4 separate regions of the Homo sapiens genome follow, and regions 1, 2 and 4 are each linked to region 3. The links are contacts of gene promoters, found by promoter capture Hi-C in human tissues and cell types (Jung and others, 2019). All regions are on one chromosome and are shown on one strand. Each heading gives the region's core, a stretch centred on a gene start or on the middle of the fragment in contact. The rest is flanking DNA. Distances are from core to core; before and after follow the strand shown.

The links. The method cuts DNA at HindIII sites, captures the fragments that hold promoters and counts their contacts. A contact is called where the count stands out against the background at its distance.
Region 1: a contact is called between a fragment that was not itself captured here and the fragment with the promoter of GSX1 in region 3, in 2 of the 25 tissues and cell types used here (pancreas and small bowel).
Region 2: a contact is called between a fragment that was not itself captured here and the fragment with the promoter of GSX1 in region 3, in 4 of the 25 tissues and cell types used here (H1 embryonic stem cells, hippocampus, mesendoderm cells and 1 more).
Region 4: a contact is called between a fragment that was not itself captured here and the fragment with the promoter of GSX1 in region 3, in 5 of the 25 tissues and cell types used here (H1 embryonic stem cells, heart left ventricle, liver and 2 more).

The regions. Positions count from the first base shown.
Region 1 is chr13:27,746,931-27,749,937 of GRCh38, forward strand. No RefSeq gene overlaps it. Among named protein-coding and RNA genes, the nearest start is that of GSX1, 44 kb to the right of the region's middle. The HindIII fragment of the contact is 3,578 bases long and covers 1-3,007 here.
Region 2 is chr13:27,828,191-27,831,170 of GRCh38, forward strand. The region is part of intron 3 of PLUT (PDX1 associated lncRNA, upregulator of transcription); the gene reads right to left. It overlaps LOC124903139 (a long non-coding RNA gene), which reads left to right and starts at 2,020. Exons shown (of 2, transcript XR_007063734.1): 1 at 2,020-2,212. It also overlaps the pseudogene RNU6-73P. The HindIII fragment of the contact is 3,272 bases long and covers 1-2,910 here.
Region 3 is chr13:27,791,123-27,794,011 of GRCh38, forward strand. GSX1 (GS homeobox 1) reads left to right here and starts at 1,361. Exons shown (of 2, transcript NM_145657.3): 1 at 1,361-1,980; 2 at 2,444-2,889. The coding sequence starts at 1,569. The coding sequence ends at 2,826. RefSeq lists an enhancer at 1,288-2,091. The HindIII fragment of the contact is 15,189 bases long and covers 1-2,889 here.
Region 4 is chr13:27,728,496-27,731,603 of GRCh38, forward strand. No RefSeq gene overlaps it. Among named protein-coding and RNA genes, the nearest start is that of GSX1, 62 kb to the right of the region's middle. RefSeq lists an enhancer at 81-1,280. The HindIII fragment of the contact is 6,909 bases long and covers 1-3,108 here.

The DNA.
Region 1 (3,007 bases), core at 135-2,634, 44 kb before region 3:
ATCCAGGCCATCTTCTCATGGCCTGCAATGCAGGACTCTTGGTCTAAGGGTTAACCCTGTGTCTGATGTGTGATTGCAAAAATTATGATAGGGGTAGGTAATCCAAGTGAGCTTGCCTGGCTGTTTGTCTGAGTGGATGCCGCCTTCCAGAAAGAAACTAGCCAGTACCTATAACATTAAAGGTACCATGTTATAATGGTGCCATCTTACAATGAGCCATCTCCCTCATTTGTCATAATGTGTCCAAAATTGGTGGGTTCTTGGTCTCACTGACTTCAAGAATGAAGCTGCGGACCCTCGCGGTGAGTGTTACAGCTCTTAAGGTGGCGCATCTGGAGTTTGTTTCCTTCTGATGTTCAGATGTGTTTGGAGTTTCTTCCTTTGGTGAGTTCGTGGTCTCGCTGGCTCAGGAGTGAAGCTAAAGACCTTCGCCATGAGTGTTACAGCTCTTAAGGCAGCGCGTCTGGAGTTGTTCCTTCCTCCCGGCGGGCTCATGGTCTCCCTGTGCTTGAGGAGTGAAGATGCAGACCTTCGCGGTGAGTGTTACAGCTCATAAAAGCAGTGTGGACCCAAAGAGTGAGCAATAGCAAGATTTATTGCAGAGAGCGAAAGAACAAAGCTTCCACAGTATGGAAGGAGACCCGAGTGTGTTGCCACTGCTGGTTCAGGCAGCCTGCTTTTATTCTCTTATCTGGCCCCACCCACATCCTGCTGACTGGTAGAGCCTAGTGGTCTGTTTTGACAGGGTGCTGATTGGTGCGTTTACAATCCCTGAGCTAGACACAAAGGTTCTCCACGTCCCCATCAGATTAGTTAGATACAGAGTATCCACACAAAGGTTCTCCAAGGCCCCACCAGAGCAGCTAAATACAGAGCGTCGATTGGTGCACTCACAAACCCTGAGCTAGACACAGGATGCTGACTGGTGTGTTTACAATCCCTGAGCTAGACATAAAGGTTCTCCAAGGCCCCACCAGAGCAGCTAGATACAGAGTGTCCATTGGTGCACTCACAAACCTTGAGCTAAACACAGGGTGCTGATTGGTGTGTTTACAAACTTTGAGCTAGATACAGAGTGCTGATTGGTGTATTTACAATCCCTGAGCTAGACATAAAGGTTCTCCAAGGCCCCACCAGAGCAGCTAGATACAGAGTGTCGATTGGTGCACTCACAAACCCTGAGCTAGACACAGGGTGCTGATTGGTGTGTTTACAAACCTTAAGTTAGATACAGAGTGCTGATTGGTGTATTTACAATCCCTGAGCTAGACATAAAGACTCTCCACGTCCCCACCAGACTCAGGAGCCCGGCTGGCTTCACCCATTGGATCCCGCGCCGGGGCTGCAGGTGGAGCTGCCTGCCAGTCCCAGGGCTGTGCACCCGCAATCCTCAGCCCTTGGGTGGTCGATGGGACTGGGCACCGTGGAGCAGGGGGTGGCGCTCGTCGGGGAGGCTCGGGCCGCACAAGAGCCCATGGAGCGGGTGGGAGGCTCAGGCATGGCGGGCTGCAGGTCCAGAGCCCTGCCCCGCGGGAAGGCAGCTAAGGCCCGGTGAGAAATCGAGTGCAGCGCCCGTGGGCTGGCACTGCTGGGGGACCCAGTACCCCCTCCACAGCTGCTGGCCCGGGTGCTAAGTCCCTCATTGCCCGGGGCCAGCAGGGCTGGCCGGCTGCTCTGAGTGCGGGGCCCGCCAAGCCCATGCCCACCCGGAACTCCAGCTGGCCCGCAAGCGCCGCACACAGCCCTGGTTCCCGCTGGCGCCTCTCCCTCCACACCTCCCTGCAAGCTGAGGGAGTGGGCTCCGGCCTTGGCCAGCCCAGAAAGGGGCTCCCACAGCGCAGCGGTGGGCTGGAGGGCTCCTCAAGTGCCGCCAAAGTGGGAGCCCACGCAGAGGAGGCGCCGAGAGCGAGCGAGGGCTGTGAGGACTGCCAGCACGCTGTCACCTCTCAATAACAACCCAGCTAGTCTTATATAGACAGCCCCATTTCAGTGACCAGGAAACTGAAGCTTGGAGAACAACTGTGTTGCTTGAGACCACAGAACTGGGGTTAGAAGAAGGTCTAACTGACCCCAGAGCCCATGCTCTTCCCAATATGCTGTACTGTCTCCACAGCACACCACGTGCCACACATTTCCCATTTCCAATCCAAAGATCATGCCCCTCACATAAATCAAACCACAGACCATGGGAGCTACACACAGGACACTCAGCAACCCTCTGACTATAATTATTTGATGTTGCTTGCCACAGGCTGTTTGTGCTGCCTGACAATTATGTCTGTGCAGCCAGAAAGCGGAAGGTGAAATGAGTAGAAGAAAGAATAAATGCCCTTCAATGCCTTTCTCCATTTCCATGGAGTGTTGCTGCACCCCACTGAAGACATGGTCTGAGCTGAGGCTTCGGAGTTACCCTCAAAGCTGGGCCTTGGCTTTTCTGACCTTCCCTGCAAGCCGAGTTGTCCCAAGAACCCAGCTGGCCAGGCCACAAGTCAGCTACATCCTGCCCTCCCCTTACTATGAAAACCTGGGGCAGATGATCACCTGGCAGTGCAGGCTGGCTGTGAAGCAGTCACTCTCCCCATAGCAGATCAGTGAGAGCCATCTCTTACCATGTCCTTGAAGAGGAAAATCAGCTTTGCCCCAGTTTTGATCATATGAAGCAATAGTGTATTAAATAATAAAGCCAAAATTGTGACAGGCTGCCTGGCATACTGACACCCTACAGTATGCCAGGCACCGTATGAAACACTTTGCAACTGTCTTGGGTATTAAACAAGTGGAGGATATCATTACTGGATAAAGCATCCATCAGTCCATGGTCTACCTTGCTTTTCCAAGTGTGGCCCACAGATCAACAGCATCAACCAACATTATCTAGGAGCTTGTTAGAAAAGCAGAATCTTGGGCCCCTCCCCAATACTAACCTGCATTTTAACATGATTAAGAGGTGGTTTGTATGCACATTAAAGTTTGAGAAACACTGGTGTAGCGTTCTCTTTAAGTCCAG
Region 2 (2,980 bases), core at 25-2,524, 37 kb after region 3:
TCTCCTGGAATTTATGCCACCTTCCCATCTCAGAGTCATGGTTCAGCGTTTTTCACTGGTTTATTCTTATTTATCCTGCAGGCTCAGCTTTAATGTTCCTCCTGTGAGCTCACAACCTATATTATTCTTTCTCATTGCAACATGTTCTTTGCATTTACATGCAACCATTTGTGTATCTATTGTGTATGATCCCTCGGGGGCTGATACATTTTGGGACAGGAAGGAAAGCATCCTTTTGTATGAGATGTATCCCCAGTACCAAGCTCCAGGGTCAGCTGGAGTAGTTGTTGAGTTGACATGGATGGAATTGGTGAAGAAATGAATGGGCTGTATAAGGTTGACAGTATTCACTCATAAAGGTTTAGTGACTTGACTCCTGCCACACCCTCAGCAAGCAGACATGCAGTTCCTAGGTGAACTGCACCATCTGGAAGACTCCCTAGGAGAAGAAATGGGGAGAGGGGCTGCAGGAGGCAGGTTAGAAAATTCTAGAACAGTTGGTTCTCCAAGACAGAGTCCCCTTAGAGTGGGGCTGTAAAGATATGTGAGAAGCATAGTCAATGTTCACACTTGTGCTAGCTTTGGCAGCACATATACTAAAACTGAAACAATACAGAGAAGATTAGCATGGCCCCTGTGCAAGGATGACATGCAAATTCGTGAAGCGTTCCATATTTTTTAGTGGAAGCAATTTTGGAGGTAGTGGAAGCTACAATGATTTTGGCAATTACAATAATCAGTCTTCAAATTTTGGACCCATGAAGGGAGGAAATTTTGGAGGCAGAAGCTCTGGCCCCTGTGGTGGTGGAGGCCAATACTTTGCCAAACCACGAAACCAAGGTGGCTATGGTGGATCCAGTAGCAGCAGCAGCTATGGCTTTGGCAGAAGATTTTAATTAGTAAACAAAGCTTAGCAGGAAGGGAGAGCCAGAGAAGTGACAAGGAAGCTACAGGTTACAAGAGGTTTGTGAACTCAGCCAAGCACAGTGGTGGCAAGGCCTAGCTGCTACAAACAAGTCATGTTTTAGACAAATACTCGTGTATGGGCAAAAAACTTGAGGACTGTATTTGTGACTAATTGTATAAGAGGTTATTTTAGTTTCTGTTCTGTGGAAAGTGTAAAGCATTCCAACAAAGGGTTTTAATGTAGATTTTTTTTTCACCCATGCTGTTGATTGCTAAATGTAATAGTCTGATCGTGACGCTGAATAAATGTCTTTTTTAAAAAATGTGCTGTGTAAAGTTAGTCTACTCTGAAGCCATCTCGGTAAATTTTCCCAACAGTGTGAAGTTAGAATTCCTTCAGGGTGATGCCAGGTTCTATTTGGAATTTATATGCAACCTGCTTGGGCGGAGAAGCCATTGTCTTCAGAAACCTTGGTGTAGTTGAACTGATAGTTACTGTTGTGACCTGAAGTTCACCATTAAAAGGGATTACTCAAGCAAAATCGTGGAATTATTGGTGATAAAAGTGATTGTTGGCACATCCTATGCAATATATCTAAATTGAATAACGGTACCAGATAAAATTAGAGATGGGAATGAAGCTTGTGTGTCATCCATTATCATGTGTAATCAATAAACGATTTAATTCTCTTGAAAAAAAATGTTCACACTTGTTGGGAAAAAAAGTCTCCCTTGGTTTCATAATGCAGAATGTTGAAAGTAAGGCTCTCCCTATGACGCCCTTAGCCCCACCTCCACCCCCAAATAACGGGAAATACGGGCCGTCTTCTCTGAAGGAAGATTTTTGGGTTTATCCGAAGAAGGCAGGTGTAAAAAGCGACTGGGAAACAGCAATATGCCCTTCTGCCTCTCCTCTGAGCAGAGCGAAAGGCTGCTGGCCACGGGAATGTGGGTCTCGGTGATCCCCGCAGCCCGCAGGCCCCACGGACCCAGGAGAGGCCGGCGCGGAGCCTGGGGCGGACTAACAGCAGAGGGCGCCATAGAGCAGGCCGCGCCCGGCAGGTGCGGCCCCCGCGCCCGGGTGAAGTCCGCTGGCCGGGAGCAGTTCCAGCCAGACCCTGCAGCTCTCAGACTGGGGCGGCCCTCTCCCTTGCCCTCCTCTGCTCGGCTGTGATTTCGCTGTGCTTCTGTGGGAGAAAATGCTATAAGTGACTCTATGGACATCCGTAAAAATAAATGCCAGCTACTATGACTATTCAGGTGTACAGGTGACATGCGATATTCAGAAAGAAGCTAAGAGTCTGGGGTAAGGGTGGGAAGGGGGATGTGGTTCGTTGTTTTTTGTTTTTCTGCTTGGCTTGTGGAGTCCGTTCAGTGTGTAGTGCTTTTTGTTTGTTTGGTTGGTTTTTTTAATGTCTTAGGTTAAATTTTGTCTTTCTGGGAAAAGCTACTTTGGTTAAAATTTGTCTTTCTGGGAAAAGCTACTTTTTCCCAGGATGATTTGACACAACACTGGTGCAATGCACTAACTTAGATCAAAGAAAACGGGCTGAAGAGACCATTTACCCACATGTAAATCCCAGTAGGCCGTTTTTTAAAGAACCTCCGCCGGGATTGGGAGTCATTCAATCAAGGAGCGTTAGAGCTGGAAGAAACTTTTGAAATTAAACCGCCTTTTTATTATTAGATTAAAAAGGAGGCCCAAAGAGGAGAAGGAACTTGTCCAAAGTCACAGCACCTTTGAATGCAGTGGGGCTGATTTCCAGTCTGGGGCACAAGGGAAACTTTTAGTGAAAGGTTGGTGGTGTGTGTTGTTAAGCTTTCATTCTATTCTCTATTATATAAACATTGTAAGGAAAATTGAGAAGATGCCATTATTTTAATTGCCAGAAATCCTCCCACATCAAGGCGATCATTGTTAATATTTTTGCTCTATAATTTTCCAGCCTTTTAAACTTATATATCAAAACTTGTATCAATACAAATTTATATCAGTTTACTAACACTGGATTACACCATCCTTATTGCTTTGCAACTACTTTTTTTTTTTGATCATCAATATAGCTTGAACACT
Region 3 (2,889 bases), core at 111-2,610:
TGCTTCCCCAGACCCCTAAGCTTCCCCCTCCATTTCTCACAATTCCATTCAGGGCTCAGAGCAGGTGACTGCAGCGATTTGGTTCCAATAAAATCGAAAGTAAACGTCTCCTGTGAAAAGTCCCGGGCTGTAAATTAGAAATGTTTATGCTGATTTCCCATTGTATGGAAAAAGCTCCTGGGCGAAACAGCTTTGAGCCCGAGAACGATTTAAAAAGCTGGAGCTGTGTACACAGCTCTGAGCGTTTGAAGTTGTTTAACCATTGTGTGACCAGAAAGAAGAGTGACGCGGCAGGAAGAAGAAGCCGGGTCTTGGGGAGAGCGGAGGCGGGTCAGGGTGGGCAAAGGCAGCCGATGCCAGGAATACAACCGCCCTTCGCGCCGTTCCAAACTAAGAGATGGCAGCGGTTTCCCAGCGCACTGCTGGAAGTGTGCTCCAGTAGACAGGGTGTGGGCAAGATGCGCGGGCAGACAGTCCGCACTCGCCACATGTGCTGGGGTGCGAGATCTAGATCTGCGCCATCTCGGCTTTCATTCCCCATTCCCTGTCTCTGTTCGTAACGCTCAGAGACTGTTTTTCCTCTTTTACATCCACGGCCCTGTCATTTGAAGGAAAGGGCTGGTTGGCCAGCATCTACCGAACAAAGACTGGGCGTCGTAGGCAGCACCAAAATTAAGACTATTTGAGAAACTTAGAGAAAACCGAGGGACAGCGATGGGTCTAGGGCTGGATAAGGAATAATGAGCCCTTCTCCTCCCTCCCCACAGACGCCTCCTTCACGCGGGAACCCGGTCCTCCTTCTTCCGACGCAGAGAGAGAAGCGATTCCACAGGTGGAAAATCTGAGACCGGCTGGAGGGAGGTTCGGGGGTGCACGGCACTGAGCTGACAGGGCTGACTGGAGACAGCATACTTTTGGGGTGTAAGGGCGATAATAGAAAGAAGGGGACCAGGACCAAGTGGACAGAGGATATGAGGGTGTGCGCCCATGGGGATCTGTAGAAGAGAGGCCGCGGGGGTGCAAAATCAGTAAGGTGAACGGGCTGATGGCCAATGCAAAGCCAAAGGGGAGTAAGAAATAAAGAGAAAGGAAAGAATATTAAATCGCGGGAGAATGAGAAAATAAACCCGCAAAAGGGAGAGGAGGGGGCGAGGGCGCCTGTTACGGCGTGGGTGGGGTTGACAAGAATAGAGTACATTATGCAGTTCATTTAGTTAACAAGTGAAATAATGAGGAAGCGTGCAGAGTGAATGCCAAGAGAAAAGGCACAAAAACCCTATTGAGAGGCCCCGGCCGCTCCTGGCGTAGTCCATCACATGGCAATAGTCCTATTTAAGCCGCGCCGCCGGCGCCTTTCAGCACCACTAGCGCTGGCCAGCACCCCGCGCTCTTTGGGCGGTGCCCACGGCAGCAGAGGCTACTGTTTCAGCCTAGGTCTCAGCCGCGCGTTCAGCCTCCTGGGCAGAGGCAGCTGCGGGATACCGCGGCCAGGGAAAGCGCGTGGAGAGCCGAAAGGTGCGGTGGGCGCAGAGGGCGGGCTGGCTGCGGGGCGACCGCGCGCCGGGGCCATGCCGCGCTCCTTCCTGGTGGACTCGCTAGTGCTGCGCGAGGCGGGCGAGAAGAAGGCGCCCGAGGGCAGCCCGCCGCCGCTCTTCCCCTACGCTGTGCCCCCGCCGCACGCGCTGCACGGTCTCTCGCCTGGCGCCTGCCACGCGCGCAAGGCTGGGCTGCTGTGCGTGTGCCCGCTCTGCGTCACCGCCTCGCAGCTGCATGGGCCCCCCGGGCCGCCCGCGCTGCCTCTACTCAAGGCTTCCTTCCCACCCTTCGGCTCGCAGTACTGCCACGCGCCCCTGGGCCGCCAGCACTCTGCTGTGTCGCCCGGGGTCGCTCACGGCCCGGCCGCCGCTGCTGCTGCCGCCGCGCTCTACCAGACCTCCTACCCGCTGCCTGACCCCAGGCAGTTCCACTGCATCTCTGTGGGTAAGCGGGGCCGCCGCGCAGAGGGACCGGGCAGAGGTGATCCGAAGCAGGATGGAGAGCCAGAGATGGAGGAAGAGGGACCCTGGGCTTTCTGGGGGCGGTGAGGGTCATGTCGGGGACTAAGGGGGGCGCTTGGGGTGGAGTGAGGATAGAGGGCCGGGACACAACGCCAGGAGGCGGATGAGGGCAGACGTCCAGGTCCTGGAGTGTGGGCCGGGGTAAGTGAGGGCTGGGATCCAAGGCTCTCCATGAAGGGGAAGGGGTTCCAGGGCTGCATGACTCCGGGAGAATCAGGATCTCGGAGCTGGACAAGGAGCGCTCACTGTAGCTCTGCTGTGGATTGTGTTGGGGCGAAGAGATGGGTAAGAGGTCAAAGTCGTAGGATTCTGGCGACCGCCTACCAAGGGATTGGGTCCACAGCACAGAGGTCTGATCGCTTCCTTCTCTGCTCTGCCACCTCCAGACAGCAGCTCTAACCAGCTGCCCAGCAGCAAGAGGATGCGCACGGCTTTCACCAGCACGCAGCTGCTAGAGCTGGAGCGCGAGTTCGCTTCTAATATGTACCTGTCCCGCCTACGTCGCATCGAGATCGCGACCTACCTGAATCTGTCCGAGAAGCAGGTGAAGATCTGGTTTCAGAACCGCCGAGTGAAGCACAAGAAGGAGGGCAAGGGCAGCAACCATCGTGGCGGCGGCGGCGGGGGTGCCGGTGGTGGCGGGAGCGCACCGCAAGGCTGCAAGTGCGCATCGCTCTCCTCAGCCAAGTGCTCCGAGGATGACGACGAATTGCCCATGTCTCCGTCCTCCTCAGGGAAGGACGACCGGGATCTTACGGTCACTCCCTAGGCGCGTGTCTCCCTAGGTCGCCCACCCCAAGACCTCCCTGCGCCTCGGAGACTAGTCCTGGGA
Region 4 (3,108 bases), core at 271-2,770, 62 kb before region 3:
CTCCCGGGCTGTGGCTGACCGGACCAGCGAACACACTGGCAATGTTTGAGTTACTATGGCAATCACAAAATAGGAAGGCCTTTTCTTCTTTTCCCCATCTCTGCATGCAGCCGCAGCCTGCTCCTGAATAGGCCACATCTGCAAAAAGTTTTAACACGGTACTCAGATAAAGAAAAGGATCCCAAAAATGGGCACTGACCCGTCTCAAAAAATGTTGCAAATTTTACATACAAGAATTGGGGAGCTGGGCCACTTTGCACAGGTTATGTCATAATGCAAACACAAAGGGATAAAAGCGCATGGAGGCTTTGGCTGTCAGATATTGAGAGGAGGGAATGGCAGAAGTAAATGACAGCTTAAATGCAGATGTAAGGAGAAAAGTCAAAGATGGGTGACAGAAAGTTACTGGTCAATGAATAAGGGAGAAATTTCAGACACACACACAAAAAACAGACAAAAGGGTAAAATACAATAAAATCTATCTATAGAGATTTACTGAGAAAACCCCCCAAAGCATATTTAGCAAATCTTAGAACTATGAAACCCTGTGAAACCAACACATGGCTCTTTAGACAGGGCCTTTGTGGACTTTCTGTGTCCCACCACTGTTTCCTCGCAACTTACGGACGGGAGAGGATGTTTTCAAACAATGGAGGAGCCTCCCCGGGAACTCATATTTTAGACACAGCTTGGAAAAATGGATGTTTGCTGATGAAAAAAATATATGTAAAGACAGGTAGAGATGACCCTTGGAGACAGGCCTTTCCTGGAATGGAGACACTGGCTCGCAGCAATTCATAAGGAGTTATTTGGGGCTGACACCCCTTCCCCCACCCTATTCTCTTGCCCCCACATTTCTTTAAAATGTGTTACTTAGTCAGATTTTGTTTGTTTCCTCCTCTCTCCCAAGTCGGAAGGTGATTCAGCAGATTTCTGGAATGGAGCTGCCTGCCCATGCTCTTGGCATCTTTAGGTTGCAGAAGGACAGGCCTCCTTCCCGCTCTGTTCCACCCCTCACCCCCTCCACTGAGCTTAGGGCCGAGTGACCAGGCATCTGTCTTGAAAAACCCAAGTGTCAAGAAGAAGCAAAAATACTGAAATTAATCTTCACTGCTTTTAACTTAAAGAGCTATTCACGGTGTGAAAGCAGTTGGAAAAGACTTGGGTGGGCAGTGAACTAAGAAGTCACCATTTGCAAGAGTTGAAACTCAGAGGGAAGAATACTTTTAAGTAGCATGAACTCGCCACAAAAAGTCGCAGTGCTCAAAGGCGTCCAGAGTCCAGTAAAACTGACACTACATTTCACATTCATTGACTCTTGTTCTTTTGGGGGAGTTTTCGTATGAAGAGAAAGAGACAATGGAAGACAATAGTGCTACCTTATCAAAGTTCATTCATGCAGCTATTTCAAATACTTTTAACTGCTTGTCAATAGGTCTCGCAAGTCCCTGAGATTCTAAACGTTCTGTCACGTTTGTGTACTAACCACTTAAAGTTCTGCTGAAGCTTTGTGCCCCGGACTGCCTCCCCTTTATGTGGGTCAAAATGCAAGGCAAAGCCATTGTGTTAACCGGCCTCCATTAAATTCATTGATTTGACCTGTATTTTAAAGACCAAAAGTCAAACGGAATGGGAAGTTAAAGTTCCCATACAAAATCTTCCCGTGGGCACTTTTCGGCTTCCTTGAACTATCTGGTGTGTAGGCAAAGGACGTTTTAGGGCTGTTTGAAGTCTGGCTTGCTGCCCCACAGCATTTTTGCTTACATCGTATTTTTGGAGAAAAGTTTGGGTTTGTTCTTAATTTTATGCAAGGATGAAACAACGCTAAAGTTGAAGGAAGTCTGTTATCTTGAATTTGATTTTCTTCCCAAGGAAGTGGTTTTGCTCACCTTCTTCAGCAGCTTGACAAAGCTACAGCTGAGGCTGGTCCTGTTGCCCTAAGCTGGGCTCTCTGTCCTTGCTCAGAACTTCCTGATCGTGAATTGTCGTTTTTTCAGTCAGTATGCACCTTTGGACTTGAGGTGAGCTTAAGTTTTCTTCTGGACACATTGAGGAATGGCGGCATTTCAAAGCCCTGTCTTTTTCTCATGAGTGTTTTTATGGCAAAAGTAGTCACAAACAGTTCTCATTTAAAGTGTGTGAAGTGTGGGGGCAAGTAAGGAGGAGAAATTATCAATAAAAACCCAAAAAAGTGCCCTTCAACCAGAAGACAACTTCAGCCTGCTGTTCCTCTCTCTCACTTTTACTCTTAAGCATTCTCCCATTTCCATTTTGTCCAGTTAAAAAGAAATGGAAAACTGCCAGCACTTTGAGAGGCCGAGGCAGGTGGATCTCTTGAGGCCAGGAGTGCGAGACCAGCCTGGGAAACATGGTGAAACTCTGTCTCTACTAAAAAAATACAAAAATTAGCTGGGCATGGTAGTGGGCACCTGTAATCCCAGCTACTTGGGAGGCTGAGGCAGGAGAATTGCTTGAACCCGGGAGGCAGAGGTTGCAGTGAGCCGAGATCGTGCCATTGCACTCTAGCCTGGGCAACAGAGTGAGACTCTGCCTAAAAAAAAGAATAGGAAAACCATCCATCCACTTCAATGCAGAAGGAGCAAAAATCAAACTATTGATACCACTTAACACTTACTAGATACCACAGTTCTGATGACTTTTTAAAAATAATTCTATCAACACCATCAGCCAGTCGGGGAGATGCCAGGCCTAGCGAGATGTGGTTGAGGAGCCTGAACCCAGTAGATATGAAGTGCCCGAGAAAGGCAGAATCCAGTGAACACTTTGTGACTCTATATTGAACTGAGAAGATGCAGAAAGCCCATCGAGCAAATATATGTGTAGAACTCTAAAAACTCCAGGGACAGAGTTCTTGAAAGTCATGAATAAATATCTCTCTGCCAGGAAAGTTCATTTCTAATTGTTGCTAGCTACTATTACAATATAATAATATAGCACAATTGTTGAGGGTAAGATTGCTATACTCATTTTATAAATGAGGAAATTGAAACTCAAAGATCAAGGAACTTCCCAAGTTCACACAGCAAATAGATAGCAGAATAGAACCTGGATCTGTGTGATCACAAAGTCCACACACTGAGGAGAACT